7 separate regions of the Homo sapiens genome follow, and regions 2, 3, 4, 5, 6 and 7 are each linked to region 1. The links are contacts of gene promoters, found by promoter capture Hi-C in blood cells and fetal thymus (Javierre and others, 2016). All regions are on one chromosome and are shown on one strand. Each heading gives the region's core, a stretch centred on a gene start or on the middle of the fragment in contact. The rest is flanking DNA. Distances are from core to core; before and after follow the strand shown. Region 1 holds the start of TG (thyroglobulin). Region 2 has its middle 23 kb from the start of NDRG1. Region 3 overlaps LOC105375771 (a long non-coding RNA gene). Region 4 has its middle 13 kb from the start of CCN4. Region 5 overlaps NDRG1 (N-myc downstream regulated 1). Region 6 overlaps LOC105375771 (a long non-coding RNA gene). Region 7 overlaps CCN4 (cellular communication network factor 4).

Region 1 (3,323 bases), core at 499-2,998:
AGCCCAGAGGCAGCCTAGAGAGCTAGTCCGGGCAGGGTCGGTGGCAGCTAAGGACTAGGAAGTCAAGGCAGCCTCTGCTTCCACCACCCCAGCTTCTCAAGAGGATACTTGGAGGAGGGAGAGGTCCCAAAGCACAGATCATTTGACACTCTCCTCAACCTGCCCCACTCCCCACACGTGCCGTTTATTCAAGCCATCACAGAAAAAGTGATGGCAAGAAGAGAAGGGAGGGCAGTGGGAGGATGAAGCATGGATTGGGGTTCACTTGGTCAGATTGTCCAGTGTTGAACAGCTTGGGGAACTGAAAGGCAGGCACCTCCAAATGACAGTGGAACTGAAAGGCAGGCACCTCCAAATGACAGTGGCCAAGCCTCACATGCACAAAGGAGTTGCAGGGCAGAGCTCAGGAAGAGGGGGGAAGGCACAAGATGCTTTTTATGGCATCTTGGACCTTGAGAGTTCGCTGCTGACATAAGCCTTACTGGAAGCTGCCATCCTCTGCACACTGGGGCACGTAGTCTGCTTGCTTCAGAAAGGCCGTTTCCCTCTGCAGCTCACAGGGACGAAGGGGCTGGGCATCCACCTGGTACTCTAGGAAAAGAAAAGTGGTTCATCAAAGAAGAGTGTGGACTGGGCTGCCAGGACAGAGACGGGCTCTCATAAGCACAGATGCTTTTCCAGGGTCATCATCATTACCTATGACAGCCTATTTTAAAATTTGGCAGCTAAGCACACTTTCTTACAAGTATGACATTAGCTCATTTAATGTGCAACATTCTCCTAAGAGGTGACAGGCAATATATCCTTGTCACTCATGAGGCACCAAGTCTCAGGCAGCGAAAGTCGTCTGCCCAAAGTCACGTAACTGGCAAGTGAAGGATCCCAAAATCAACGCTGGGACTACACGTTCCCCGCCCGCCCCCACCCTGCCGCAATTCCCATGAGGCTATTTGGAGTAAGTTAGAGAACCGTAAGGAAGTTCTTCTTGAATCTATCAAGCCATGCCCTGCAGATGTAACATGTTCCAGATAAACATTGAAATACCAATTAATTAATAATGTACATGACTTATTTTTCCATTGAGAACTCTTGTAACACATAGGGTCCTACCCAGAAATCACAACCGCATCATGAGGTGTGTGTTATTTGTTTACTTTTTAAATGAAAAAAAAAAAAAAAAAACAGAAGCTTGGCACTTTGCCCGAAGTCATATGGGTAAGTGGCTGAGCCAAAGACAGAACTTAGGGCTATTTCACTTCATAGGTAGATTTCTTTTTCTACTGCTTCTAAAATACCTGTTATGGATGACACAGACTTTGGAATAGCTAAGGGGATAAAAACCCAAGGTCAATGCCAAAAGTTTGCCAAAATGGTGGGGTGAGGAGGACCTAGAATTGAATTAGGAAGATCAACCACATTTCCCATTTCTGCTCCATCAATCACTAGCTCTGTGACCTCAAGTAATTCAGTTCGGCTCTCTAAATCTGCCTCTTCATCTGAAAAAAAAAAAGCAAATCACTGACATGTGGGAATTTGTGAAGATTAAATTAGATCGCACCTGTTCGAAGGCCCAGGGCAGAGCCTGGCTGACACTGGAGCTCCCTCCCCACCGCCTGGCTCCATGGCCTCAGAACTTACCGAAGATATTGGCCGACACCCAGCAGATGGAGGCCAGCAGGGTGAAGATCTCCAGGACCAGGGCCATTTTCCTGGCCCTTCCTGGGAGGAAGGAGGAGAAACCACTGCTTGCCCTAGGTCCCCTGGCCAGGGAGCTTTTATAGAGCTGCCGTTGGCACTTTCCTTCCCACCCCCAGGTCCTCAGTGAGGCAGTGCCCCATCCTGTTTTCTCTGCTGGTCAAAAGGAGCTCCCTCCACCTGTGTCTACTCCTCCTGAGGGCACTCGTGTGGCCAGTGGAGCATGAGGATCTTGTCTAAACTGTGGGGGAACAGAACGGGGTGGGGTGACTTCAAAATCCTTTTTTATGGGTAAAGACCAAAGCTCTGTATCTTTGGAGGGAACAGGCTCAAGCCCACAGTGAGGGAAAAGCAATCCTTTGTTCTTTCCTTCCCCACCCTACCCTTTCTCCTTCTCCTTCCTCCTTCCTTCTTTCCTTTCTTCCTTTCTTTCTTCTTTCCTTCCTTTCTCCCTTCTATCCTTCTTTCCTTTCATTCTTCCTTCTTTCTTTCCTTCCTTCCCTCTTTCTTTTCTTTCTTCCTTCTTTCCTTCCTTCCTTCTTTTCTTTCTTCTATTCTTTCTCTAACAACCTCTTAGAGCTCCACAGTAGCAGGCACCTAATCTAGACAATGAGGATATGGCAGAGAACAAAACAGGCAAAATCGTGCCCTCATTAATATAGACTGTGAAAACTTTGGTGAGGGAAGCAAAATACACACACACTCATATTCATATTTCTATTACTTTCCTCTCTTTCCTAGGACCTCAGACTTTGTCAACCAAAAGATAGCAGGAACTGTGTATTCCACAGAAAGCCTGTATGTCCATTTGGTTTCTCCTGGCAAACATGGCTTCCTTCCTTCAGTCCTGTTCCTGTGAGACCTGGAAAAACTCACCTCATCTCCCTGAGCCCCAGCCTCCTTCTCTGGAAAGCAAAGTTAAAAGGAGAATAATAATATGTCCCTATTTGTTAAGGTAGTTGTAAGAGAATAGACATTGAAGAGCACATGCTTATTAGACACTAGCAGTTATTATTATTATTATTGATTTTCTTATTTTGCAAAAGCATCATGCCAGGGAATGGCAAGTATTCAGAAGACCAATCCAGCCAGGTAAGGAGCTAGTGACAGATAGGGTCAGGAACTGGCAGGTAATGAGGGCAGGTTGCTGAGCCTGGCACCTGAGGAGAGATGGAGGGACCTGTGAGAATCTGGAGGATATGGTCCCGGGTAGAGTGAAGGGCAGGAGGACAAGCTGGAAAGTGGAAGAGACTCCAAACCCTGGGGAAAATAAAGGGGCCGATATAGCTGCCGTGCCGTAGACTGTACTACCTTCCACAAATAGGGTTGCTATGAATATTAAATGTGTTAAAATATGCAAAGTGCTTAAAACAGTATTTGACACATAATAAGTATCCAGTGTTAGCTACTGTACTAGTCTGCTATGGGTGTCATCACAAACTATCACAGACTGGGTGGCTTAAGTAACAGAAATTTATTTTCTCATAGTTCTGAAGGCTGGAAATCCAAGATCAAAGTGTCAGCACTGTTGGTTTCTTTGGAGACTCCTCTCCTGGGCTTGCAGATGGCCATCTCCTCCCTGTATCCTCACTTGGTCTTCCCTGTGTGTGTTTGTGTCTTAATATTTA
Region 2 (3,277 bases), core at 425-2,924, 450 kb before region 1:
AGATGGAATTGTCTAGACAAATAAACCGGTAGACCAATAGAACATTCTGCAGTGATAGAACTGTGTGCTGGCCAGTCTCCGTAGCCACTGGTCACAAGGGTTATTGAGCACTTGAAACATGGCTAATTTTTAATTTCATTTCCTTTGAATGAATTTAAACACAGACCTGTGTGGCTACCGGTTGTTGTATTAAACGGCACAGGTCTAGCCTTCTCCTTCGCAGAACTGCAGCCACTGTATTATCATGGACATTTCTTCTCAAGACCTGTTTTCTACATGGGAGCTTCATGCACTGTTGCTCTGGCCCTTGCAGTGAGGCAGAGGTCCCAACACAGGGGTGGTGGGCAAAAATCTGAGGTCACAAGTTCAGGTGTGCAAGAAATATCCATTTTTCTTACTTTTTTTCAGTCCGTGGGGACTTGCAGTCCTCATTCCGCTGGCTCAGTGGGGAAATTCAGTCTCTGTCATGAGCGGACACCCAGTTCCCCTGCACCAATGTCAAGCAAAGTTTCACGGGTTGTGTTACAGAGCAGGCAGGCATTGGGGAACTCAGGGTTTCTTCAGAGCAGGGGTTGCTGCCTGGGCACCAGGCTCTCCAGAGAGGGTGGGCTGAGGACATAGCAGCCTGTCTACCTCCCTAGGGCAGGAGCAAGGGTCCCTGCTGCTAACAGAACCCCAGACCCTGCCCCCAGCTCAGGCAAAGTGTTCTTCCTTCTCCAACTTTAAGTTTCTCTCCTTCCCTTCTGGAATTCTTGATCAAATATTTTCATGCCTTAAGTTTTATCAAAACAAAAGCCAGCAATGACTGTGTCTTGCTTTAGGCCCAGTCACCCTGACCCCCAGGTAAAGTGGGCTCAAATGGCCAGGTTTCTTCCCAAGAGCCCTGCTGAAAAAAACAAAAAGAAGAACCTCACTCTCTAATATTGCAACACATTATTCTTCCCCATAGGACCGTCACTCCCAATGTGAAGAAAAGGGGGAAAGACCTGGAAAAGACATTTGCAGCAAAGGAACAGTTTTGTTAGGGCCTGTGGCCCGCAGGTTCCAGCGTGGCAGCCTCCGAATGGTACTAGTCACAATGGTGGCAGCTTCCTGAATGTCTGCTGTGCAATCATCTCCATAAGTCCTCATGAGAAGTTGGATGTTGGCATGCCCATTTCAAAGATGAGGAAACTGACGTCCCAAGAGGTTAGACAATATAGCTAAGGTCTGCAAGGATTAAACCCAGGTCTCTTTGTCTAGAAGCTTCAGTTCCTGCAGGCAGCCTGGAAACAGATGATGTAAATGAGTGTAAGGAGAGAGGCAAGGCAGCAATTTGCCTTGGGAATGGGGTGTCTCAGAAGTAAGAAGCCAAGCCCTCAGCCAGGAGATGAGTCAAATCATTCAGATGACTCCAGAAACCAAGAGACCAAGCCAGCCTGGCATCCCAAACTGCTGGCCTGTTGCTAAACACGCACACCTTCTCCAGCTTCTATTAATAATCAGCCAGGAAGCCTCCCATGGTTACTCACCTAGTGATTAAACCATGATCACTGTTTCAGAGAGAGTCCTGGCCCACCACCACCGAGGGGGCAGGGAGGAGGTGAGATCAGCAGCAATGCCCTTTCTCCCTTTGAGTAGAGGCAGTGTGGGCTGGATTGTGGTAAGACTGGATCTGCAGTCATAAGACCTGGGACCTAGAGCCAGGAACACTCTCTCTGGGTGTCAGGTTCCTCAGACTACACAGGAAGAATGTTGACTTCAAGCATTTCCCCACCAACCTTTGCATTCAGAAGACACTTGGTTGCTTAGGAAAAAGAAACCATGGAGGTTTGGGGTCATCCAGATAATGGTGGTTAGGGACACACTTGACTGACTGCCTGGGTTCCAATCCCAGCTCTACTGGACGTCTTCGGCAAATTATTTTTTTTCTGCCTCGGTATTTCCATTTATACAGTGGGGATGTTAAAAACAGTACCTTACCTTTTGGAGATGTGTTGAAGACTATGGTTATTACATACAAGTGGTTTATAACCATCCCTGGTACTTATATGCTAAATAAGTATTAGTTCTTCTCATTCGCCATGAACACTTGGTCCAGAAATTTACCTGCCTGAAGCTTAGCTTCCCCATTGGCAAAATGTGGATATAATAACTCCTACAGTTGGAGTGCTAATTGCATGAAATGATGTAGGTGAAGTCCCTGTGTAGGGTTGACATTTAGTCATGGCAAGCCCTCTCTTCTTGTTCTTTTCTTCTGAAAGGTCTTCAGGTTAACTCTGAGTTTTCATCATGGAGGGCTTCCTGGACAGGTGAGACTCAGAGAAGCCAAGAGGTGAGGAAAGTGGTGGTAACAGGAGGTGAAGACAAAGAACAGAGCCAAAGGAGGGATGAGCCTCCTCTCATTCTTGCAGAGCTTAACTAAAGTGGGCCCTGAGCCGCGGAGAGGTGTTCCAGCAAGGAAGAGTCCCCACCACATTCTGGAGGGGTGCATGGAAAAAACAGCAATAGGACCAGCATAGGGGAAAAAAGGGATTCCCCAAGAACATTTCTGATAAGACATGCTCCAGACACCATTTAATGATAGTCATTCCATATGCCTGTCCAGAGATGTTGATGGCACTGGGTCCTCCCAGAAAGAGCAGATTCTTGGGAATCAGCCAGGCCTGTTAGTCTTCCCAGCGGTGGGACCATGGGCAAGTCACTTCACCTCTCTTAGCCTCAGTTTCCTCATGTGTAAAATGGAGATTATAATACTTGCTTCACAGGGTTGTTACAAAATTCAGAAATGAAGAACGCAAAGTATCTATCACAGTACCTGGAATATAATAGATGTTCAACATATATTAGTTTATTAAAGTTAGAGTTCATAATTCTATTCCACTTCCACGTTTCTCTCATTTGCTAAGCCTTTGTCAGCTGAGGCTCAGAGAGGGGAGTGACTTAGCCCAGTTCCCGGTAGCTGCTTATTAGCACAACCAAGGACTTTGCAATGAGGTCAGGTTTGGCTTCAAGTCTGGGAGCTGATAAATGGTTCCAGACGTGGAGTGGGGAAGAGAAAGGGTGGGGTGGGATTTTTATTACTTATGGGTGGACATAGAGACAGGACAAGCTCTTGAGATTATATATTTTAATAATAGGATCTCTCACTGGTAATTCCTGGAGGACAAATATAATTACATGACATAAATGATGTCATCTCATCAACAGAAAAGATATGCAAATGCATCAAGACAATGAGATACTTTCACCTATCAGATGAGCAAACATCCACCAAGCTGAAGGCCTGGTGAGACCC
Region 3 (3,631 bases), core at 1,103-3,602, 480 kb before region 1:
AACACACTGCCCTGAGACTTTCCCTTTGGTCTCTGCTCCAGCTACACACTGGCCTCCTCCAAGTTCCTAGTACTGACTATGAACACTCCTGCCATGAGGCCTTTGCATGGGCTGAACCCTCTACCTACCTTACCCTCCTGTACACAAACAGAAAGATAACTCTGGAAGCAGGATGTGGAATGCATTAAGAGAGAAAGTTAAATAGATTTAATAAATATTCCCTTAGCACCCGCCTTAGGCCAGGCACTGAACCAGCTCCAGAGTTGCAGAGAGAGATGAAGAGGTTCCTGAGCCCCTGAGGAGTGTGCTCAGGACCCAGGGAGGAGACAGACTGATATTGACAATAGAGTGGGAGGGGTGGGATGGAGATTTTGCAGTTGGGTGAAGAACCAAAGACGCACAAGGTATAACCCAGTCTTGGGGAGTGCAATGGACTGAATGTGCCTCCTCCAGATTTGTAGGTTAAAGCCTGAATCTCAATGTGACGGTGTTTGGAGGCGAGGCGTTTGAGAGGCAATTAGGATTAGAGGAGGCCATGAGGCTGGGACCCTTGTGATGTAACTGTCCTTTTAAGAAGAGGAAGAGACACAAAATCTCTGTCTCCTTCATGTGAGGACACAGCAAGAAAGTGGCCACATGCAAACTGAGACGCGAGCCCTCATCAGACACCAGATCTGCCAGTGCCTTGATCTTGGACTTCCCAGCCCCCAAACTTGTGAGAAATGAGTGCCTGTTCTTTAAGCCACCCAGTCTGTGGTATTTGTTTATGGCAGCCCGGGCAGACTAAGCTGGGGAGGATAAAGCCCACAACTGGCTGTCAGGAGACTGAGTTTACATCCCTATTCTGCTATGGTGACACTAGGCAAGGGTTTCCCTTCTCTGGGCCTCAGTTTCCCCATCTGTAAAGAAGAGACAATAAACCTTCCCTCTAAGCGTTTATGCCCTGATTGTAGAAGATTTCTTCACCTCAGCTGTTCAGTGCTGAGGGTCTGGAGAAGTTTTCTTTCCAGCAAAAGATGGATCCTGCACTTTTCAGGCTTGCAGCTGCTTGGAGACACCCCCAGACCACAGTGGTAGGGGACAGGGAGGCAGATTCAGGCAGAAATCTCACACAGCACTTTTTCCAAGTACCTGGGGTCATCGCTAGGGCTGAGTCGTGCAGGTCTGGGGAAGCATGGGACCTACCCGTCCCCTCCCTGGTTAAATATTTGCCAGCTTTGGCCCCGTCTCCAGAGGAGTTCGACCAACCAGCCTAGCGAATCCATCTGGATATGGCCTTGTGCGCACGAGGGCTTAGGGCTTAGGTAGCACCTTTGTTATTTGAGCTTTTATTTAACTAGAAGAGAAAAAAAGCAGATACTGGTTCTTTCCCTCCCATATCCCCCACCTCACTGCCCAGCTGACCTTGGCTCCTCTCAGGCCCAAGGTTGACCAGGGCTGGCCAGGCAGCCCCTGCAGAGGAAAGAGCAGCAGTTTTTTGCTTGTTTGTTTGTTTTGTTTTTGAGACAGAGTCTTGCTTTGTAACCCAGGCTGGGGTGCAGTGGCGCAACCTTGGCTCACTGCAACCTCCGCCTCCCAGGTTCAAATGATTCTCATGCCTCAGCCTTCCATGTGTCAGGTGTGTGCCACCACACCACACCCGACTAATTTTTTGCATTTTTAGTAGATACAGGGTTTCACCATGTTGGTCAGGCTGGCCTCAGACTCCTGGCCTTAAGTTATCCACCTGCCTCAGCCTCCCAAAGTGCTGGGATTTCAGGCATGAGCCAGCACACCCAGCCAAGAACAGCAGGTTCTCATGCAGAGAATGCTGGGTCAAAATTCTTGCTCTGCCCCTGGGTTCATGCATCTTTGACAATTCCCTTCACTTCTCTGGGCATTGCCCCACCCTGAGCTAATGGAGGCTCCAGGCGAGAGCCCTTAGGTCTCAATCCTCCCCCTCTGCCCTACCATATCTCACCCTTTCCCCTGCTCTGCCATGCTAACTGCAGCTCTGATGGGCTGCTCTTCCCCTTCTCAGCTTTTGAGTTTCTGTCTTAGTTGCATCTGCCCCTTCCTGATTGTCTGATGGTAGTGGCTGGACTCAGCATCAGGCATCTGGGTGCAGATCCCATCTGCATCATTTTCTTGTTAGGAAAAATTACCCCACCTCTGTCAACCTTGATACTCTGTCTGTAAAATGAGGGCTGAGAATTAAATCTTGTTGGAGTTCTTAGGAGAATAAAGATGATGGTGTATATGCTGTATTTTCATGAGCAGGAACCTAAAGACCAGCACTTCTATTAATTAGACCATCCTGTCCCCCTGCCCCCTTCCTTCCCTTCCCTCACACTAGGTTGGTTAAGATGCTGACCCCTTATTCCCCCAGTGCCATACCTGGCTCTGCAAAGCACACACCACTGTGGGCATTTAGCGTCATGCTTGTTTGTGTTTGGCCAGAAGTGTCTAGAGGGCAGAGACCAGGTCTCACTTATTTTCCAACCCCCAGGTCAGCAAGCACTTGATCAGAGCATTTCTTGAGTGAGTGAATGCATGGGTGAATGAATAAATGAATTGCCAATGACCTTTTCTGCCCTGTGAGGAAATGCTCTTGGTCTTCACCAATCAATAGTGATCTATGTCCCAGTTTCTAAGTCGTGCCCTAGAAAACGATTGCCGGGCTTCAAATGCACGATATAGTGTTGAGTAGACTGGATGTTGGCAGGGTAGGGAAGGGAGGTCACAGAGGTGGTGTGGGCCAGCCTTGGCACCCTGGATGCTTCCCGTGGTGGGAGAGGAACATCACACACACATGTCTTTTCACACCCACATGTCTTTTCTTTCTGCCCACCCTACTAGTGGACTTATGGCACTTCCAGCCAGAGTTGGCCCTGTCCCTTGGAGAGGTTCCTTAAATTACATCTGAGGGCCACCCCGCATATGTTTGTGTGAATCACAAGACCTAGAGTTCAGATCCCATGAGAGAGAATACTATACCTAGGCCACCGACCCACTTTGAAGCTCAGCTCTGGAATGGGCCAGCACCCTGTAGTACCACAAGGTCGACTGGCATCTTCTTAAGGAGCTTAATAAAATTCTAAATTACTAAAATAATAAGAGGATTCCAGGAGATTATATCTAAAAGCACAAACAGCATCACAGAAGTTTCCAATCAGATTTGTTTTTCTATTTACTCTTTCCACTTGAATTTGTACAACCCATATTTCCCAAGGGTCTACTAGGAGCCAGGCACTGAGCTGTGCTCTGAAGATACACAGCCCAGTGAGACTCAGCCCCTTGGTGGCCAAGATACCTCTTAGGGGAGAGGGGGATGCTGCTGAGGCCAGCCCAGAGAGAAGAGCTGCCCTGGGGCTCCTGCCCTGAGTCTTCTGAGTTACTGGGTCCCCCTTGGGGCCAAGCTCTGGGCCATGAGCTACAGCTTTTGTCTCCTGAGTTCCCACAGTTACTTCACAAGGTTGAGAGCAAATGAATCTTCTCCATGAGGAAAATGAGGCTCAGAGAGGTTAAATAACACACCCAGCTTCACACAGCAAACCCATGGCTAAGTCACCAGGAGCTCAGATCCTGGCCAGTTTAACTCCAAATTCCATGTTCTTAACCCCAATATATGTGGCCCAGAGAGGACAGAAGT
Region 4 (3,449 bases), core at 315-2,814, 310 kb before region 1:
TTTTGGATACATCTATTTGGAATTATACAGAGAAGGGGGTTCTAGTTGTTAACATTCTCAACCTCAGCCAAATTGGCACATGCAATCCAACTCACCTTTGGAGACCCCAGAGACAGAGTTAAACGCTCTGTCTCAATCCTTTCACTTAACTGTTATTGTATTAGTTCATGGCATTTTTCCATGTCCACTATGTATTGTTCACCCACCTAAGTTCTCCTGCTGTCTTACCTTCCCACAATGAATTGTATTTGTTTCCTTGTTCTTCATCCCTTTTTACCTATAGAAGTAAAGGCTGTAATCCTTGTTCTTGTCATAAATACTAATATTAACTCCTATTTACTTAGAACTTACCACGAGCCAACCCTGTTCTATGTTCCTTTTATGTGATAAGCCATGTAATTTTAGAAAAACCTGATAATGTAGATTCTATTGCTATTATCCTTGTTTGGCAAGAAAGAGATGTGAAGCACAGAGGGGTTAAGTAACTTGCCCAAGGTCATCCAGCTAATAGACAACAAGCTAGGATTAGAAGCCTGGGAGGCCATGCTGGGTTCACTCTACAGTGTCTGTAGTCTCCATCATTGTGCTGTGACTGAATAGCACGGGGATGGGGAGATGGATGGAGGAGAGAAGGGAGGGTAAGGAAGGAAGAAAAAAGAGATTGGGAAGAAGCTTGAAATTTGATTAATGAGGGCCAGAATATCCTAGATGGGTATATGGTGGAGGGCTAAGAAAGGGCCCAGCATTGAGTGCCTATTGTCCTGTCTGTAGGGACAAGTCCAAGTAGACAGTTTTTCCCTATTCCACATTTAGGTGGAAAAATGTGTACTTCAGTATCCACTCCTTCCTGAAGGTCTCCAGTCTGCAGGCCTGCCCTATGGATTTTGGACCTGCAAGCCCTCATAGTAACAGAAGTCAATTATATATAAATCTGTCCATATCTCTACCTCTATCTCTAAATGTATATGTATATCTATATATCTCCTACTGGTTCATGTCCTTGCTCTAGGGAGAAAAACATTCTAGGCACATGATATTCTATTATAGATCCAGTTCTCCCAAGCTCTGGATGGGAAATGTGGTATCTGCCATGGGTGGTCTTGTTTGTCAAGTGCTGGATGCTTGGGACCAAGGGCTGGGATTCATTGCTTTCTTAAAACCACACCCTCTCACTCCCCCTGCTTCCTGGAGATGACCCACTAAAAATGGGAAGCCTGCATGGCCACACCCCTCCTCCCAATGTATGTTGGGCAGCTCTTCTGCAGAACAATCTAGCATTGCTTAATAAAATGAAGCAATCATGTGCCCTATGGCCTTCTGTGTGTACGCCCCTGAGACATTTTCCCAAGGACCATAAAAGGACATGCAGGAAGATACTTATCCAGGTATTGCTTGCAGTGACAAGGAGCAGGAGGCAGCCTAGGCATCTGATTTGAAGGAAAGGAAAGTAAAAGCAGCCATTCAAAACAAGAGATGGATGTGCATAGAACAACAGGGAAACAGTTGATACCCAGAGCTGAATGAAAGAAGTAAAACGGGGAGGAGACCTCCAGTCAGCACCAGTGATGTGAATTAGAATCAGATGCACCTCATCCTGCAATGTACATGTACATGTTCAGAGACACACATGTTAGAGATGCTTCCTATGGCTGTGAAGGAGAGGATTGGAGAGGGACTGGGGTGGAAGGGCAACACAGGAGCCAAAAGGCGAACAAGTGCTGCATGGATGATAACGAGCTGTAGACTGGAAAATTCAGTTAGCCTCACTCCTCTGCATCCAGGACAGTGCAACAAATTTCAGAGAGGTTGGAAAAGGAGAAGGAGCAGGAGAGGAGGGGAAAGAGATGTAGAAGAGAAATAAGAGGAAAAGGAGGAGGATAAAAGAGGAGAAAGAAGAGGAGAGGGAGGATGAAGAAGGAGAGGAGAAAGAAAATGAAAAGAAGAGGAGAGGGAGGAGGAGATGGGGGAAAGAAGACAAGGGAGAAAGAGGAGGAAGGAAGGAAAACTTACGTCTGCCCAGAAACCTTTACAGGATCATTCATAGCAGCTTTAATTGTAATAACCCAAAACTGGAAGAAACCATGATGCCTTTCAATGGGTAATTGTTTAAAGAAACTTTAGCATAGCCATGCCATGGAATACTATTCAGCAATGGAGAAGAACAAATTAAAAATTGGTCACAGAAAAGAAAGGGAGAGGAACTGAAATTTGGGGGAAATCTCCCATGTTCCAGGCACTTTTAAGTTTATGATTCATTCTATTTTCAAAATAATCTTACAATATCAGGTATTATGATGCCCATTTTACAGCTGTGAAAACAGGAGATCAGGGAAATAAACTGAGGCTCAGAGAGATTCCATGCTGTGTTAGTTTGCTAGGGCTGCTGAAATGAAGTAGCACAGACTTTGTTGGCTTGAACAACAGAAATTTATTTTCTCACAGTTCTGGAAGCTTGAAGTCTAAAATCAAGGTGTTGGCAGGATTGGTTTCTCCTGAGGCCTCTCTCCTTGCCTTGGAGATGGCTGTCTCCGCTCTGTGTCTTCACATGGTCTCCCTTTTGCACGTGTCTGTGTTCTAATCTCTTCTTATAATGACACCAATTATATTGGGTTAGGGCCCACCCACATGACCTTGCTTTATGCAATTGCATCTGGAAAGACCCTACCTGCAAATACACATTCTGATGAACTGGGGGTTAGGACTTCAACATAAAAACTTTGAGATGGACACAATTCAGCCCATAACAGATGGCTGAAAAGCAACAGAGCTAGAATTTGAAACCAGACATTTGGGTTAGCTCAGCCCTTTATCCACCCACAAACAAATGTTGATTGGCACCATCAGGATTTTTTTCTGGGCATGGTGCTAGTATGCACAGTGTGCAGGGCACCTGCTAGACAATCAGAGCTATAAATCGTGATTCAGAATCTGTAGTCACTTGGCCCCTTCGGGGAGATTGTAAAGCTGGTGTGCTGTACACACAAAGTGGAGATCTGACCCCTGGACCCCCGCCATCCTCACACACCTGTTGGATTTGAACGTGCTTGAGCCTCTGGACTGGCACTCTGGCTCTCTGCATGCGCTCTCGCCAAATTCCCTTAAGTCAACCACAAGTGCAAATTCTCCAAGGACTGGCAAGTGGATGTGGGGCAAGGCAGGGTGGAGGTTAGACCAGGCTTGACTCAACCCAGAAGAGTGTGGCCTGAGGTCTGGGGAAGCCTGGTCGCCACTGGGTTTCTGTTTCCTCCACGGAGCATGGGGAACATGTTCTGGGTTGACAAATGACAGGTCTGTGGCAGGATTGTGACAAGGCACTCTCTTCCCTGAGCAATGATGCTCAGATTGCCTCAATATTAGGGGTCAGCCGCTGGAATCAGACATAAACTCTGAATTTGGCCAAGGGCTCTTGAGTTTCGAACACTAAGAAGGCCTAAGAGTCAGACAGCATC
Region 5 (3,440 bases), core at 658-3,157, 370 kb before region 1:
TAAGACAATTCAGCAAGGATTAATTCTGTTTGGGAGTGCCTGACATCAAAAGCCCCTCCCTGTGCCTATCAAGGAGATAACATAAGCCCTGCATGCTTGGTGTGGATCAACTGCCCCTGTTTCTGATGTCTGACTCAGTGTGGCCTCCTAGCCATGATGCTTCAGTTGGGTGGAGTACTAGTTTCCTAAAGCTGCCGTAACAAATCTCCACAAACTGGGTGGCTGAAAACAATAGAAATCCATTCTCTCAAAGTTCAGGAGGCCTAAAGTCCAAAATCAAGGTGTGGGCAGGGCCTTGCTCCCTCCAACGCTGCTGTGGAAGAACCTTCCATGCCTCTTCCTGGCTTCTGGTGGCCCCAGCAATCCTTGGCTTTATGTGGCTTGTGGCTGCATCACTCCAATCTCAGCCTCTGTCTTTGCGTGGACTTCTCCCCTGCATATCCCTGTGTGCTGTTTCTATAAGGACATCACAGTCATTGGGTTTAGGGTTCCCTCTCAACCCAGGATGATTTCATCTCAAGATCCTTAACTAATTACATATGCAAAGACCCTATTTCCAAATAAGGTTCCCTTCTGAAGTTTCAGGTAGGTGTGAATCTTCCGGGACACTGTCCCACCCGGTACAGGTGGGCAGGATTGTTCCTCCTCATTCCACCCCATCAGCACGTGCTACCCCATCAGCATGTGCCACTTGCACGTGCCATGTGCAAGAGCATTTGAGGTCTCAGAGAAGATCCCAAAGAATAGACAGCGCCCTTGTTAGCACCTGGGCTGACAGGCTTCTTTGGGAGAGATGACAACGAATAGCCATGCCGGGAACTTGCCGTGTGGCCCCTCTCCCTTTCCCCACCTGTGATGTGCAGGGCCACTGACCCCAGGTGTCCTCCCTGCTCCAGTGATCATGGACAGCATGGGGTCATGGGCGTACACACAGGTGCTGATACCAGGGGTCAGTATTTAACATACTTGCTTTACAGATGGGAACAGGGAGGCTCAGGGGGACACTCTCAAAATTACACAGCTTTTAACAGGTGGCAGAATTGGGGTTCAGACCCAGATCTGGGTTCAAGTCACTCATGGTGTGATTGCGGCAGTTCCTTCCCGCATCTGGGCCTTGCCATCTCTCTCTCCGAGTGGACATGGAGAGGACGGGGGCCCAGCAGCTGGATGGCTGCAGGGATCAAGTCTTCTCTGGGGCTGGCACGTAGAAGAGCATGTGGCTGGTGGACGGGCATGCCTGGCTCCTCACCTGGCAGTCTCCTGCCCTCTAACCGGCTGTCTCTTGTTCCCCTAGTGCCCTCGGCTAGCATGACCCGCCTGATGCGGTCCCGCACAGCCTCTGGTTCCAGCGTCACTTCTCTGGATGGCACCCGCAGCCGCTCCCACACCAGCGAGGGCACCCGAAGCCGCTCCCACACCAGCGAGGGCACCCGCAGCCGCTCGCACACCAGCGAGGGGGCCCACCTGGACATCACCCCCAACTCGGGTGCTGCTGGGAACAGCGCCGGGCCCAAGTCCATGGAGGTCTCCTGCTAGGCGGCCTGCCCAGCTGCCGCCCCCGGACTCTGATCTCTGTAGTGGCCCCCTCCTCCCCGGCCCCTTTTCGCCCCCTGCCTGCCATACTGCGCCTAACTCGGTATTAATCCAAAGCTTATTTTGTAAGAGTGAGCTCTGGTGGAGACAAATGAGGTCTATTACGTGGGTGCCCTCTCCAAAGGCGGGGTGGCGGTGGACCAAAGGAAGGAAGCAAGCATCTCCGCATCGCATCCTCTTCCATTAACCAGTGGCCGGTTGCCACTCTCCTCCCCTCCCTCAGAGACACCAAACTGCCAAAAACAAGACGCGTAGCAGCACACACTTCACAAAGCCAAGCCTAGGCCGCCCTGAGCATCCTGGTTCAAACGGGTGCCTGGTCAGAAGGCCAGCCGCCCACTTCCCGTTTCCTCTTTAACTGAGGAGAAGCTGATCCAGTTTCCGGAAACAAAATCCTTTTCTCATTTGGGGAGGGGGGTAATAGTGACATGCAGGCACCTCTTTTAAACAGGCAAAACAGGAAGGGGGAAAAGGTGGGATTCATGTCGAGGCTAGAGGCATTTGGAACAACAAATCTACGTAGTTAACTTGAAGAAACCGATTTTTAAAGTTGGTGCATCTAGAAAGCTTTGAATGCAGAAGCAAACAAGCTTGATTTTTCTAGCATCCTCTTAATGTGCAGCAAAAGCAGGCGACAAAATCTCCTGGCTTTACAGACAAAAATATTTCAGCAAACGTTGGGCATCATGGTTTTTGAAGGCTTTAGTTCTGCTTTCTGCCTCTCCTCCACAGCCCCAACCTCCCACCCCTGATACATGAGCCAGTGATTATTCTTGTTCAGGGAGAAGATCATTTAGATTTGTTTTGCATTCCTTAGAATGGAGGGCAACATTCCACAGCTGCCCTGGCTGTGATGAGTGTCCTTGCAGGGGCCGGAGTAGGAGCACTGGGGTGGGGGTGGAATTGGGGTTACTCGATGTAAGGGATTCCTTGTTGTTGTGTTGAGATCCAGTGCAGTTGTGATTTCTGTGGATCCCAGCTTGGTTCCAGGAATTTTGTGTGATTGGCTTAAATCCAGTTTTCAATCTTCGACAGCTGGGCTGGAACGTGAACTCAGTAGCTGAACCTGTCTGACCCGGTCACGTTCTTGGATCCTCAGAACTCTTTGCTCTTGTCGGGGTGGGGGTGGGAACTCACGTGGGGAGCGGTGGCTGAGAAAATGTAAGGATTCTGGAATACATATTCCATGGGACTTTCCTTCCCTCTCCTGCTTCCTCTTTTCCTGCTCCCTAACCTTTCGCCGAATGGGGCAGCACCACTGACGTTTCTGGGCGGCCAGTGCGGCTGCCAGGTTCCTGTACTACTGCCTTGTACTTTTCATTTTGGCTCACCGTGGATTTTCTCATAGGAAGTTTGGTCAGAGTGAATTGAATATTGTAAGTCAGCCACTGGGACCCGAGGATTTCTGGGACCCCGCAGTTGGGAGGAGGAAGTAGTCCAGCCTTCCAGGTGGCGTGAGAGGCAATGACTCGTTACCTGCCGCCCATCACCTTGGAGGCCTTCCCTGGCCTTGAGTAGAAAAGTCGGGGATCGGGGCAAGAGAGGCTGAGTACGGATGGGAAACTATTGTGCACAAGTCTTTCCAGAGGAGTTTCTTAATGAGATATTTGTATTTATTTCCAGACCAATAAATTTGTAACTTTGCAGCGGCTTGTGTCTTTTTTCTGTCCCTGAGAGATTGTGTGTGTGAAACATTGCAGTGCAGGGATGGCTGTTTCACTGGGGGGTTGCCCGTCCTTGACACCTAGGGGACCCCAGCCCCTCATCTCTGGAATTCTTTCCTCGGAGCATCACGTCCAGCAGAAATTTAAGTCAGCTCATATGTTAATTCTAATTTCCCAGTGGCC
Region 6 (3,652 bases), core at 367-2,866, 500 kb before region 1:
GTGTGGTACCAGACCCTAGGCAGGTGCAGGTTTCCACCAGCAAAGAGCCTACTGGAAACAGCTTCTCCATGGCCGACTTGCATCAGCCACACAAGAGCCTCTCTGTGGGCCTGGAACAGGGGCACCTGGAAACAAGGCCCTGGGAAGCCAGAGCTGAGCTGGAGAAAGACCTGCCCGGGGAGGCACATTTGAACCTCAGTCAACCCTGTTTTCACTGTGCATTTTATATGCATTAAGCTTCCTCCTTCCTTTCTGCTCTTCCTCATTCTTTTCCTCTTTCTCCTCTCTCCCTCTTCCTCCTCTTCCTTTCTCTCTTTTCCTCCTTCCTCCTCCTCCTGCTTCCTCTTCTCTTCCCTCCTCCCTGTCCCCAACTTTCCCAGGCTATGGCAATCCCCTGCCCCTCTCCCTCAGCATGTTCCCCTCCTGCCTATGCCCCCAACCTGTGGTTTGGAAACTGTCAGCCTCAACCTAGTTGTGGCTAGGAAAAGTCTGGCTAATAGACACAAAAATGGTTTTTAAAATATTTTAAAGTGAGGACAGCCCGCTAGGGAGATGAGGCAGAAACCTAAATGACTGTGACCCAGGGCAGAGCGAGATAAGGTCTGAAAGATAACAGATTTGCCTCTCAAGTCAAGGTCTTGGACTTTGGGCAGCTCCACATCAGGGGAATGGAGACATAAACAGGTAATTAATGGTGGTTTTCCAAAAGGCCATAATAGAGCCACGTGCAAGGTCTGCAGGAGCTGAGGGGAAACCTAAAACTCTGCTAGGACCTACAGGAAGCCCTCTCAGGGAGGACCCTGTGAACTGGGGCCTGCAGGAAATGCTGGAGCTTGAACAGCCAGGAAGGACACTCCAGGAGCAGCACCATGGGATGCACGGATATGTCTGGAAATGGCCCAGGCACCATGTCTGTGGAACCGAGAGGCTTGGACTTCATACTTTTTGCTGCTGCATACTTTCCGGGTGGCCCTGGACACACTACCTCTGTGTCTATACAACTGGGGAGGATAATAGCCCCCTCAAAGCTACTGCTGTAATAAGGGCATGGGGGCTGAGTGTGAGGCGTGCGTGCATGCAGGTGAACGTGTGGCCACAAGGGTGTCTACATTTTCAGTGGGACCAGCTGTCTCCCTGCAAAGGAGCAAGTTGCTAATACCAGGGCCTCCTGGCCTGTGGGATGCCAGCAGAGATACCCTATAATGTCAGAACTTTCCAGAGCTCTCAGACCTCTTCATGTCTTAAGGAATGATGACAGTTAGCATTTATTGAGCACTTCCAGTATAGAGGGAACTTTGCATGCCTTATCTCTGACCCTCACAGTAACTCTGAATTCTCACTTTGTAGATGAGGCACAGAGATAAGCTATGTGTCCCAGGTTGCACAGCTGGCGAGAGACAGAGCTGGGAGTGGAAGCCAGCCCCGTCTTTGCCTGGCACCCAGGGGCACTCAGCGAATGCTTGCAGACTGATTGGCAGTGAATAAACAAGGAGGTAGACACCGAATTCGGGCATTAGACCCTGTGAGGTTGGAGACTGGAGGTTGGCTGGTCCCAATTCTCCCTGACCATCTCTATCTTTCCACGGTCGATCCTTGATTACCTTTAGTGATGGGAGACTCAGTCTGGAAACCTACTTCCAGGCCTGGTGGGACCTGAGGGACCTTGAGGGAGGTCCCTTTCCTTTCGCATCTGAGGCACTGTGGTGAAGATCACTCCAGTTATCGGGCCCTGCCCTACTGGAATCTGGGTGTGAGCAAACATGTTATTGTGGGCAGGGTACCTATGGCCGAGGTTATCAAGTCAGCAGCCTGCTTTGGCCCTGGAAAGTGGGTCATGGGAGGAAGGAGAAAGTGCCTTTTGTTTCCTTGCAGGTAGGGTGGAGCAGGGAGGGGAGGGTGCAAAGTGCTGAGAGGCGGGTGCAGGGCGCTCATGTGCAGTGTGAGGGGCAGGCAGAGGGGCCTCCGCTGGGTGCTCAGGTGGCCAAAGGCTTGGGGTTGGGGGATGGTTCAGAGAAAGATGCCCCTGTCTCTGCCTGGCATGGAAACTTCTACAAGCTCCCTGCTATAGGGAGGAGGCCAACTTCCTCGCCTCTCTTCCTCTCCTTCTGCTCCTTCCCGTCTTACTTTCTCACTCTGGCAAAACCGAAATTCTGTGCCTCTTTACCCCCACACCACAGGCATGGGGCTTCCTGTTCCCACTCCAGCTGTTGGGCTGCCTGGGACACGTCCTCTCCCCTTCTGCCCCTGGTTAGTCCTCCTCTGTCTGCCACTTCCTCCAGGAAGGAACCCGGGCCTCCTCTGAGCCTCCCCATCCCCTTGGGCCTCCATCTGTCAGAACTTTGGCTCCCTGCAACTGAACTGAAGTGTGTGTGATGTCTCCCTCCCTGCGGGCTGCATCTCTCTTCCTAGGGGCGGGGCTGGGCTGCCCCAGTTCTCTCTGAATGTCCAGTCCCTAGCCAGTGCTAGGGAACCACTGCCAAAGTAACCCATGGACACAGAGAGCAGGGGGTCTCCATGGCTCCCACTGGGGAAGTGGTCCCTTCACCACAGGGACCAAGACACACGTGTCCAAGAACCGTGGAGTCTCCTTGCAAACTGTGGGAACTGGCCTCAGCTGGCCCATATGGCATGAGAAGAAAACCAGCAGGGGAATCACTGAGTTCAGGGAGCCTGTGCCAGTTTCCTGGGTTTTCCCGGCAGTGCTGTGTTTCTTGTTTAAGGCTAGAGTTTAAGGCCCAACAGCTGTGAAGTGGGAGGAAGTTGAAACCAGCTTGGCAGAGGAGATTCTACATTGCCATGGGGCAGGGGGAAGCCTCATGATGAGGACCCCTTGGACTCAAACCCTGCCCATTTGCCTGTGGTTGCTGGGCAGAATGGGACCCAGGGGACATTGCCGAACATATGGCATCAAGGAAGTTGTACTTTATGCAGCAGTTAATTTATAACTGGTTATGTCGAAGTCTTGTGTAATCAAAATTACCCTTGGGAAGCTTGTAAGGTGCCCATGCCATGCAGCTGGGGGAAACCATGCCATGCAGGGATTGCCCATGTCTGTTCTTATTGCCTCATGACTACCTCTCTGGGCCAGGCTGCCATCTTCCCATGCCTAGGGTACTGCAATCGCCTCATACTTTGAGTCTTCCTGCCTCTTCTCTTTTGTCTATTTCCTGATTGTAGCATGGAAATTCCCATATGCCAGGAATCGTCTCCATCTGGTACAAACTGGGTCAGCTGGTTACTCTACACTACATCTTCTCAGGGTTAAAACCAAGTCCTTTCATAGCCCCTAAGACCCCAAATGCACTGATGCCATCAATGCCCCATGGCCAACCTAGACCCTCTCCAACCTCACCTCCATACCTTTGGCCTCACATCTTCTGCTCCAGCCCCACTGGACTCCCTGCTGGTCCTCAGTTATGCCAAGTATGTTTCTGACTCAGGGCTTTTTGCACCTGCTATTCCCTTTGCCAAGAATTTTGTTATTTTTTGAGATGGAGTCTCACTCTCTTGACCAGGCTGGAGTGCAGTGGTGCAATCTTGGCTCACTGCAACCTCTGCCTGCTGGGTTCAAGCGATTCTCCTGCCTCAGCCTCCCACGTAGTTGGAACTACAGGTGCATACCACCACACCCAGCTAATTTTTTTTTTTGGTT
Region 7 (3,387 bases), core at 488-2,987, 350 kb before region 1:
AAACACAGAAAAGAAGAGAAATCTAACTAGGATTAGAAGGATAAAGAGGAAAGGTAAGTCAGTTCCTCTAAGCTTATAGGTGTGCTGGGAACATTGATGAATGAATGCAGGAATCACTGAGTGAGAGAGGGAAAGACCTGAAATGGGAGGCATCCAAGGACAGGAGGGGCAGGGCTGACAGGAGCTGGAGCTGCAAGCATCTTGGGAGGTGGTGGGGAGGGAATTGCCCAGGAGGATAAAGAGGCTTTGGTTTTTGGGTCACCTCGGCTAGGCAGGGGCTCCGCTTGTGCTCGGTCAGAACAGGGTCACTGGGCCAGACACAATGGCAGACAGCTTCTGCCTCCCTGCTCCCCCCGTGACCCTCGTGTGGCCCTCCTGGGGAGGTGGTGGTGGGAGAGCTGCCTTGCTGCCCTGGGGCTGCTGGGGACAAAGCTTTCCTCCACGCCTCCTCCTATCCTCACAGGACTGCTTCTCCACCGAGCAATTTTGTCTCCTAGGGTGTATTTGGAAAGGTCTGGAGATGATTTTGGTTGTCACATCTCTGAGGGAGCGGGCGCTTCTGGCATCTAGTGGGTAGAGGCCAGGGATTAGATTGCTGGGATTTAGTAGTCATGCATTAGATTGCTACTAAACATCCTCCAGTGCACATGACAACCCCACCACAAAGAATTCCTTCATCCAAGATGTTGACAGTGCCGAGCTTGAGAAACCTGCCCCACACCGTCCCTGAGCAATCTTTAGCATATATAATTTTTTTTAAAAAAACTACCAATACTCTTAGAACTCCCACTCTATTGCCATTTTTCTACTGCTCTCTACTGCTTGCCTCGTAAGCACTTTCCTCTAGAAATGTCCTCATCTGCTGCCTGCCATGGCATCAGATGCTCCTGGTTTTCTTCATACATCCCAACCCTCCTCTCTGTTTCCCCATGCCTCCTCTTATTCTGCTCACCCTTCACATGTCAGCATTCCCAGACCTCTGCCTCAGGCCCCCTCTGTCTCACTGTGGATGTTACCCTCAGGCCATCCCAGCCATCACCACCAGCAGCTCCAAGCAGATGACTTCAGAGCTCTCCTATTTCGTCTCCTTCCTCCCCATAAAGAGAAACTGGAAGCTTCTCTTAAGATCCCGTGGGCAGGGCACTCTGCCTTAAACTCAGTCTGTTTCAAACAGAGTAGATCTCCCTTGGCCCAAATGTGCTCCTTCTCTTGTATTTGATCCTAGGCAATGACAAGCCCTGGGAGTCAGCCTCTGTCCCTCTTTCTTCTTCACCCCATGCATTAGATTGACATTAAGACCTTCAGTCTTACTCAAGCAATGCCTCTTGTGTCTGTTCCTTCTTCACTGCCTCTACTCCCACTGCCCTAGTTCAGATCCTCATTAGCCCATCCATCTATCCACCTACCCACCCATTCATCCATCCATCCATCCTCCATCCATCCATCCATTAATTGATCCATCCATCATTCACCTATTTGTCCGTCATCTATCCATCCAATCATCCATTTATTTATACATCTATCTACCTATTCATCCACCCATCCATTCAGTTCATCCATTCATCCATCCATCCATCCATTCATCCATCCATCTGTCCCCTCGTCTACTTATTTATACATCTATCCATCCATCCATCCATCCATCCTCCATCCATCCATTAATTGACCCATCCATCATTCACCTATTTGTCCATCATCTATCCATCCAATCATCCAATTTTTTATAAATCCATCTATCTATTCATCCATCTGTCCATTTATCAATTCATCCATCCATCCATTCATCCATCCACCTGTCCACTCATCTAGTTATTTATACATATATCCATCCATCCATCCATTCATACATTCATCTGTCTATTCATCTATCCACCCATCTACTCACCCATCTATCTATTTATACACCTATCCATCAATTCATCTATCCACTCATCAATCCACCCATCTATTCATACATCCATTTATCCATCCATCTATTAATCCACCCATTCATTCATCATCCTTCCATCCATCCATCATCCACCTATTCATCCGTCATCTATCCATCCACTCATCTATTTATACATTCATCTATTTATCCATCCATCTCTTCACCAATCCATCCATCCATCCATCCACCCGCCCATCTATCTATTCTTCATCCATCCATCTGCCCACCCATCAGTATGACAAACATTAATTGGATACCTGCTAAGTGTATGGCACTGGGCTAGATTCCAGTAAGCAGCAGTGAAACAATTGGGCCTGTCCCCACTCTTCTTTTCCAGGGCTTCCTCTTATCTGGTTTACCTGGCTGAAATCTCACCTGCCCACCCATCTTCATAGCAAGGGGGAAGCCCCAAATCATCATGAAGCTTCTACTAGACCCATCTCCTCTTGCTCATACCTCCTCTCCTCAGGTACCCACATACCTACCCTTCTTCCACCACCCATCCCTAACTCTTTAGTAGGATAATAATGGATTGCACTTTTAGGGCTTTGTTCTTTACAAAGCACTCCTCATTTTATGCTGGGAGGATCCCACAGGACAGACTAGACAGATGGGATTATTTCTGTTTTACAGATGGGGAAATAGGGTCTCAGGGGAGGTATGACTTTCTCAAGGTCACAAAGCTAGTAGGTAGTGGACTGGGGAATGAGTCATTCTATGGTGGTCAGAGTTCCAGGAGGGTCCACAACCCATTTGTAGGGTCCCACCCCCAGCCCACTCGGGCCCACACCCACCGAAGGCTCCTGTGTCACGGGGTGCGGTCTTGCGTGGCCTCTTGGCGTCGTCCTCACATACCCACTGCTCACAGCAGTGGCCAGGTATGCTCACGCGCCGCGGGTGGGGGCACCAGAGACGCGGGGGGCGCACTCGGAGGCACAGTGGTGTGCAGCCCACCGCGCCGTCGATGCACGTGCAGTTGTACTTGCAGTTAGGCTGGAAGGACTGGCCGTTGTTGTAGCGCACCCCATCCAGGACGCAGCCCACACCGACCACCTCTGCAAACACAGGTGGCCGGTCAGGCCCAGTGGCCTTGGTGCCCCTGGCTGGCCCAGCTGCCTTTATAGGGGCTCCATGTGGACCATGCCCCAATCCCGGGGATGGCTCCCAGCATGGAGGAGGAACAGAGGCACAAAGGCAAAGGCAGGGAGGTGTGAGAGTGCACAGGGCAGGGCTGAGTGTTTGGTGGAACTTCAGCAAAGGGAGTGCAGGAGTTCCTTTATAGCTTCAGCCAGCACCCAGGGAGTGGAAGGACGCAGCCTCCCGAGGGACTTGGCTGGTTTGCTCCCTGCAGGGTCCCCAGCACCAGGCACAAAGCCTGGTACTGACAAAGACCTGCCATTAGGGCTCATGGTTCTGAAGGTGACCGACTTGTAAAAAAAAAGCCAGAACACTTCGAA

The links. Contacts are between HindIII fragments. The CHiCAGO score rates a contact against its expected background, and 5 or more counts as called.
Region 2: a contact is called between a fragment that was not itself captured here and the fragment with the promoter of TG in region 1, in 1 of 17 cell types (activated CD4 T cells). The highest score is 5.4, in activated CD4 T cells.
Region 3: a contact is called between a fragment that was not itself captured here and the fragment with the promoter of TG in region 1, in 2 of 17 cell types (activated CD4 T cells and naive B cells). The highest score is 5.1, in activated CD4 T cells.
Region 4: a fragment that was not itself captured here is called in contact with the fragment with the promoter of TG in region 1 in 12 of 17 cell types (activated CD4 T cells, naive CD4 T cells, naive CD8 T cells and 9 more); the score reaches 9.1 in activated CD4 T cells.
Region 5: a contact is called between a fragment that was not itself captured here and the fragment with the promoter of TG in region 1, in 6 of 17 cell types (naive B cells, total CD8 T cells, activated CD4 T cells and 3 more). The highest score is 7.2, in naive B cells.
Region 6: a contact is called between a fragment that was not itself captured here and the fragment with the promoter of TG in region 1, in 5 of 17 cell types (non-activated CD4 T cells, naive CD4 T cells, monocytes and 2 more). The highest score is 6.8, in non-activated CD4 T cells.
Region 7: a contact is called between a fragment that was not itself captured here and the fragment with the promoter of TG in region 1, in 15 of 17 cell types (activated CD4 T cells, total CD8 T cells, naive CD4 T cells and 12 more). The highest score is 15.7, in activated CD4 T cells.

The regions. Positions count from the first base shown.
Region 1 is chr8:132,865,383-132,868,705 of GRCh38, reverse strand. It overlaps TG (thyroglobulin), which reads right to left and starts at 1,748. Exons shown (of 48, transcript NM_003235.5): 1 at 1,639-1,748; 2 at 483-591. The coding sequence starts at 1,705. The HindIII fragment of the contact is 3,355 bases long and covers 1,191-3,323 here.
Region 2 is chr8:133,318,955-133,322,231 of GRCh38, reverse strand. No RefSeq gene overlaps it. Among named protein-coding and RNA genes, the nearest start is that of NDRG1, 23 kb to the right of the region's middle. The HindIII fragment of the contact is 853 bases long and covers 1,248-2,100 here.
Region 3 is chr8:133,348,271-133,351,901 of GRCh38, reverse strand. The region is part of intron 2 of LOC105375771 (a long non-coding RNA gene); the gene reads left to right. Among named protein-coding and RNA genes, the nearest start is that of NDRG1, 53 kb to the right of the region's middle. The HindIII fragment of the contact is 8,125 bases long and covers 1-3,631 here.
Region 4 is chr8:133,176,166-133,179,614 of GRCh38, reverse strand. No RefSeq gene overlaps it. Among named protein-coding and RNA genes, the nearest start is that of CCN4, 13 kb to the left of the region's middle. The HindIII fragment of the contact is 1,779 bases long and covers 675-2,453 here.
Region 5 is chr8:133,236,974-133,240,413 of GRCh38, reverse strand. It overlaps NDRG1 (N-myc downstream regulated 1), which reads left to right. Exons shown (of 16, transcript NM_006096.4): 16 at 1,295-3,239. The coding sequence ends at 1,536. Among named protein-coding and RNA genes, the nearest start is that of CCN4, 48 kb to the right of the region's middle. The HindIII fragment of the contact is 510 bases long and covers 1,653-2,162 here.
Region 6 is chr8:133,368,298-133,371,949 of GRCh38, reverse strand. The region is part of intron 1 of LOC105375771 (a long non-coding RNA gene); the gene reads left to right. Among named protein-coding and RNA genes, the nearest start is that of NDRG1, 73 kb to the right of the region's middle. The HindIII fragment of the contact is 2,753 bases long and covers 240-2,992 here.
Region 7 is chr8:133,220,179-133,223,565 of GRCh38, reverse strand. CCN4 (cellular communication network factor 4) reads right to left here. Exons shown (of 5, transcript NM_003882.4): 3 at 2,725-2,985. Among named protein-coding and RNA genes, the nearest start is that of CCN4, 31 kb to the right of the region's middle. RefSeq lists an enhancer at 327-828. The HindIII fragment of the contact is 1,239 bases long and covers 1,118-2,356 here.